Linked DNA regions of Homo sapiens: region 1 is linked to region 2. Evidence: promoter capture Hi-C in human tissues and cell types (Jung and others, 2019). All regions are on one chromosome and are shown on one strand. Each heading gives the region's core, a stretch centred on a gene start or on the middle of the fragment in contact. The rest is flanking DNA. Distances are from core to core; before and after follow the strand shown.

Evidence for each region. Contacts are between HindIII fragments. The study calls those that stand out against the background at their distance.
Region 1: a contact is called between a fragment that was not itself captured here and the fragment with the promoter of SOX2 in region 2, in 2 of the 25 tissues and cell types used here (bladder and neural progenitor cells).

What each region holds. Positions count from the first base shown.
Region 1 is chr3:181,924,580-181,927,797 of GRCh38, reverse strand. No RefSeq gene overlaps it. Among named protein-coding and RNA genes, the nearest start is that of LINC01206, 26 kb to the left of the region's middle. RefSeq lists enhancers at 752-1,343, 1,344-1,937. The HindIII fragment of the contact is 5,593 bases long and covers 1-3,218 here.
Region 2 is chr3:181,710,426-181,713,662 of GRCh38, reverse strand. It overlaps SOX2 (SRY-box transcription factor 2), which reads right to left and starts at 1,738. Exons shown (of 1, transcript NM_003106.4): 1 at 1-1,738. The coding sequence starts at 1,302. The coding sequence ends at 349. All of the region lies in intron 6 of SOX2-OT (SOX2 overlapping transcript), which reads right to left. RefSeq lists enhancers at 1-748, 749-1,602, 1,603-2,455, 2,456-3,237, a silencer at 1,838-1,897 and a promoter at 1,477-2,510. The HindIII fragment of the contact is 19,833 bases long and covers 1-3,237 here.

The DNA.
Region 1 (3,218 bases), core at 171-2,670, 210 kb before region 2:
TAATATTACTGATCATTGGAGAAGTGCAAATCAAAACCACAGTGAGATACCATCTCATAAAAGTCAGAATGGCTATTATTAAAAAGTCAAGGCCAGGCTTGGTGGCTCACGTCTGTAATCCCAGCACTGTGGGAGGCCAAGGCAGGCCTATCACCTGAGGTCAGGAGTTCAAGACCAGCCTGACCAACATGGAGCAACCCCATCTGTACTAAAAAATAACAATAAAAATAATACAAAAATTAGCCAGGCATGGTGGTACATGTCTGTAATCCCAGCTACTCGGGAGCTGAGGCAGGAGAATCGCTTGAACCTGGGAGGCGGAGGTTGCAATGAGCCAAGATTGTGCCATTGCACTCCAGCCTGGGCAACAAGAGTGAAACTCCATCTCAAAAAAATAAATAAATAAATAATAAAATAAAATAAATAAAAATAAAAAGTCAAAACAACAGATGCTGGCAAGGTTGTGGAGAAAAGGGAACTCTTAAACACCGTTGGTGGGAGTGTAAATTAGTTCAACCATCAAGGAAAGCAATGTGGCAATTCCTCAAAGAGCTAAAAGCAGAACAGTCATTTCACCCAGCAATCCCATTACTGGGTATACACCCATAAGAATATAAATCATTCTACCATAAAGACACAGGCACTTTCATGTTCACTGCAGCACTATTCACAATAGCAAAGACATGGAATCAATCTAAATGTTCACTAATGACAGATTGGATAAAGAAAATATGGTACGGCCGGGCACGGTGGCTCACGCCTATAATCCCAGCACTTTGGGAGGCTGAGGCAGGAGATTGAGACCATCCTGGCTAACACGGTGAAACCCCGTCTCTACTAAAAATACAAAACATAGCCGGGCGTGATGGCGGACACCTGCAGTCCCAGCTACTCGGGAGGCTGAGGCAGGAGAATGGCGTGAACCCAGGAGGCGCAGCTTGCAGTGGGGCGAGATCGCACCACCGCACTCCAGCCTGGGCAACGGATTGAGACTCCACCTCAAAAAAAAAAAAAAAAAGACAAAGAAAAAAAAGAAAATGTGGTACGTATACACCAGGGAATACTTTCAATCCATAAAAAAGAATGAGATCTCCCTCTCCCTCTCCCTCTCCCTCTCCCGTCTCCCGTCTCCCACTTTCCACGGTCTCCCTCTGATGCCCAGCCGAGGCTGGACTGTACTGCCGCCATCTCGGCTCACTGCAACCTCCCTGCCTGATTCTCCTGCCTCAGCCTGCCGAGTGCCTGGGATTGCAGGCGCGTGCCGCCACGCCTGACTGGTTTTTGTATTTTTTGGTGGAGACGGGGTTTCGACGTGTTGGCCGGGCTGGTCTCCAGCTCCTGAACGTGAGTGATCTGCCCGCCTGGGCCTCCCGAGGTGCCGGGATTGCAGACGGAATCTCGCTCACTCAGTGCTCAATCTTGCCCAGGCTGGAGTGCAGTGGCGTGATCTCGACTTGCTACAACCTCCACCTCCCAGCCGCCTGCCTTGGCCTCCCAAAGTGCGGAGATTGCAGCCTCTGCCCAGCCGCCACCCCGTCTGGGATGTGAGGAGCCCCTCTGCCCTGCCGCCCAGTCTGGGAAGTGAGGAGAGCCTCTTCCCGGCCGCCATCCCATCTAGGAAGTGAGGAGAGTCTCTGCCCGGCCGCCCGTCGTCTGAGATGTGGGGAGCGCCTCTGCCCCGACGCCCCGTCTGGGATGTGAGGAGCGCCTCTGCCCGGCCGCGACCCTGTCTGGAAGGTGAGGAGCGTCTCTGCCCGGCTGCCCCGTCTGAGAAGTGAGGAGCCCCTCCGCCCGGCAGCCGCCCCGTCTGGGAAGTGAGGAGCGTCTCCGCCCGGCAGCTGCCCCGTCCAGGAGGTGGGGGGCAGCCCCCGCCCGGCCAGCCGCCCCATTCGGGAGGTGGGGGGCGCCTCTGCCCGGCCGCCCCGTCTGGGAATTGAGGAGCCTCTCTGCCCAGCCACCACCCCGTCTGTGATGTGTACCCAACAGCTCATTGAGAATGGGCCATGATGACGATGGCGGTTTTGCCGAATAGAAAAGTGGGAAATGGGAAAAGAAAGAGAGATCAGATTGTTACTGTGTCTGTGTAGAAAGAAGTAGACATAGGAGACTCCATTTTGTTCTGTACTAAGAAAAATTCTTCTGCCTTGGGATACTGTTAATCTGTAACCTTACCCCCAACCCCGTGCTCTCTGAAACATGTGCTGTGTCAACTCAGGGTTAAATGGATTAAGGGCGGGGCAAGATGTGCTTTGTTAAACAGATGCTTGAAGGCAAGCATGCTCATTAAGAGTCATCACCACTCCCTAATCTCAAGTACCCAGGGACACAAACACTGCGGAAGGCCGCAGGGTCCTCTGCCTAGGAAAACCAGAGACCCTTGTTCACATGTTTATCTGCTGACCTTCCCTCTACTATTGTCCTATGACCCTGCCAAATCCCCCTCTCCGAGAAACACCCAAGAATGATCAATAAATACTAAAAAAATAATAATAATAAAAAAATAAAAATAAAAAGAATGAGATCACGTCTTTTGCAGGAACATGGATGGAGCTAGAGGCCATTATCCTTAGCAAACTAATGCAGGATCAGAAAACCAAATACTGCATGTTCTCCCTAACAAGTAGAAGCTAAATGATGAGAACACATGGCCAGAAAGAGGGGAACAACACACACTGGGGCCTACATGTGGGTAGGGGGTGGGAGGGAAGAGAGGATCAGAAAAAATAACCATTGGCTTCTAGGCTTAGTACCTGGGTGATGAAATTATCTGTATAACAAACCCCCATGACATGAGTTTACCTATATAACAAACCTGCGCATGTACCCTGAACTGAAAATAAAAGTTAAAAAAAAAGAAAAGTAAAAAGTTTGAAGATAAATTTCAAAAATGGAGATAGGGTGTCAAAGTTGAGAGTGAGAACAATGAAAGAAAGGCTGAGATTTCTGGCTTGGCAAACTAGGTGGCTGTGGTTCCATTCATTGAAATGTATGGAGAAGATAGTCCAGTTTTGAATATGCTGATTTTGTAGAGTCCATGGGACCTCCAGGTTAGCAATATCCAGTTAGCAGTTGCATATAAGAGTCCCAGGAGTGGGGAGCAAGATACTGGAGTTGTCAGCATATATATGATCATTGATAGTATAAGACCAAAGTGGAACTCAGAAATGAATAAAGGTAGGGAAATTGAAGAACACTATTATTAAAAGGAGTGGACTCCA
Region 2 (3,237 bases), core at 489-2,988:
TTTTTCGTAGCTTTCTTTCCTCCAGATCTATACAAGGTCCATTCCCCCGCCCTCCCCACCCTCCCCAGGTTTTCTCTGTACAAAAATAGTCCCCCAAAAAGAAGTCCAGGATCTCTCTCATAAAAGTTTTCTTGTCGGCATCGCGGTTTTTGCGTGAGTGTGGATGGGATTGGTGTTCTCTTTTGCAGCTGTCATTTGCTGTGGGTGATGGGATTTTTTTTTTTCCTTTTTCTTTTTGAGCGTACCGGGTTTTCTCCATGCTGTTTCTTACTCTCCTCTTTTGCACCCCTCCCATTTCCCTCGTTTTTCTTTGAAAATTTCTCCCCCCTCCAGTTCGCTGTCCGGCCCTCACATGTGTGAGAGGGGCAGTGTGCCGTTAATGGCCGTGCCGGGCACCGGGCCGCTCTGGTAGTGCTGGGACATGTGAAGTCTGCTGGGGGCGGCGGGTTCCGGCACCTCGGCGCCGGGGAGATACATGCTGATCATGTCCCGGAGGTCCCCGGCCTGGCAGGGCGCCCTGGAGTGGGAGGAAGAGGTAACCACAGGGGGGCTGGAGCTGGCCTCGGACTTGACCACCGAACCCATGGAGCCAAGAGCCATGCCAGGGGTGCCCTGCTGCGAGTAGGACATGCTGTAGGTGGGCGAGCCGTTCATGTAGGTCTGCGAGCTGGTCATGGAGTTGTACTGCAGGGCGCTCACGTCGTAGCGGTGCATGGGCTGCATCTGCGCTGCGCCGTGCGCATTGAGGCCCGGGTGCTGCGGGTAGCCCAGCTGGTCCTGCATCATGCTGTAGCTGCCGTTGCTCCAGCCGTTCATGTGCGCGTAACTGTCCATGCGCTGGTTCACGCCCGCGCCCAGGCCGGCGCCCACCCCGACCCCGCTCGCCATGCTATTGCCGCCGGGGGCCAGCAGCCCGCCGGGCAGCGTGTACTTATCCTTCTTCATGAGCGTCTTGGTTTTCCGCCGGGGCCGGTATTTATAATCCGGGTGCTCCTTCATGTGCAGCGCTCGCAGCCGCTTAGCCTCGTCGATGAACGGCCGCTTCTCCGTCTCCGACAAAAGTTTCCACTCGGCGCCCAGGCGCTTGCTGATCTCCGAGTTGTGCATCTTGGGGTTCTCCTGGGCCATCTTGCGCCGCTGCCCGCGGGACCACACCATGAAGGCATTCATGGGCCGCTTGACGCGGTCCGGGCTGTTTTTCTGGTTGCCGCCGGCCGCCGCCGCGGTGGAGTTGCCGCCGCCGCCCCCCGAAGTTTGCTGCGGGCCCGGCGGCTTCAGCTCCGTCTCCATCATGTTGTACATGCGGGCGCTGTGCGCGGGCCCGGCCCGCCGGCGGCCGCCGACCCTCGGCCCGGCCGGGACTTTGGGGGGCCCGCGGGCGGGGGGAGAGGAGGAGGGGAGGCGGGCGGGGGTGTCGGGAGCGCAGGGCTCCGCGAGGAAAATCAGGCGAAGAATAATTTGGGGGAAAAAAAGAGAGAGGCAAACTGGAATCAGGATCAAAAAAAGCGCTTCCCTCCTCCTCTGGCCGATCCTGCCGCCGCCGATGATTGTTATTATTATTTTTTGGAAAGGCTTAAGCCTGGGGCTCAAACTTCTCTCCCTTTCTTTCTCTCTCCTCTTCTTTCTCTCAGTCCTAGTCTTAAAGAGGCAGCAAACTACTTTCCCCCTTTTGCAAACACTCTCTTCTCTGCCTTGACAACTCCTGATACTTTTTTGAACAAGTTAATAGACAACCATCCATGTGACGGGGGCTGTCAGGGAATAAATGGGTTTCTAGCGACCAATCAGCGCGCGGCGGCTCCTCCACTCGAGCCCAGCCTCGCTGCCGGGTTTTGCATGAAAGGGGGCGGGGCCTCCCGCGCCGCCGGCCGCGCGGGGGAGGCCGGGGGAGGAGGGGGCAGGCGAGGAGGGGGAGGAGGCTCCCAGAGCCAGCCTGCCAGCCACTGAGAAACCTTTGTATCCCCTCTCGCAGCAACAGGTCACACCACACGCCTTTTCGAAGGAAGTGGGTAAACAGCACTAAGACTACGTGGGTTTTTTTTTCTTTAAACTTAATATTGATTTACTTTTTGGTGCAGGGTACTTAAATGAGGATGGGACGCGGGAAGCAGCTAAGGTGCGGGGGTGGGGCAGGGCACAGTGGGTGGCTCAGGGCGGCTGTCCAACTCGTATTTCTGGAAACAGCCAGTGCAGGAGTTGGTGTGTCATTGTTCTCCCGCTCATCCACAGCACTCCCCCCCAACTCCAGCCCCTCTGGTGCCGCTCCCGTACTGCGCTCTTCCGCTCTCCTCTCTTACCTTACAGGTGCCAACACTCTCTCACGCCCTTCTCACAGTCCCGACTAGAAGTTAGGAGACCCAAACCTCTGTCCTCAAAACCTTCCTTGCTTCCACGTAACTTGCTCTGTTCTTAAAAATAAATCCTGCTCGGACCATAAGGCAGACTCTAGAGCTGAGAACCAGCAGGCCTTGGTAAGCTGCCATCTCCCTGTCCAACTCAGCTCTTTGGCCCAGGAAACTGCAGCTCTTCCTCTTAGCCCCAGCCACATCTCCCACTAGACTGTCTTCATTCAACCGTAGCAAAGGGGATGCTTCTACTGTCTGCCCCCACTCCCCATTCCCATCCCATGCCTCCCCGTAAGAAGGGTTTCGGTCGTGCGGCTTTCAAATGGGGGCTGGGGAAAGACACAGACGGAAGGGCGCTCAAAAGTGCAGGCGATGGGGGAGGGTGATTTCAACTTCCTGGCATCCCACGGCACTGTATGGAGGTGGCTTTTGGGCCGCAGTCACAAACTCCCTCCCACGCAGAGTTCCCAGGACTCCAGCAGAACCAGCCCTGGCATTTTCCCCGTAGATTTCCATTGTGGTGGCCGCAAAGCCCAGGCCGCGCAAGGCTGGGGCTGCGCCGCAAAGGGGCTCAAGGCCTGGGAGGCGGGGTCGATGCTCTCCAGGCACAGGTGCAGGCAGCGCACACTGGGAGAAGGCGGCCGGGACTGGGGAAGGGGGAGCCCAGCAAGGCCCGGGTTAGAGGAGGATGAGATGGGGGCGGGGGTAGGGGCTCAGGAATCTTGCCCGCCCAGGACCCAAGAGGGTAATTTTAGCCGCTCTCCCATTGTCCCGACGTAAAGATTTCAATAGGTAGGCGCTCAATGCGGAGGGCAATGGCAGCACGTCCGTTACAAATAGGTAGTTTTGTTTCTCTTGTTGTCGCTACACGGAGTCAAACAAAGCCTCGTCT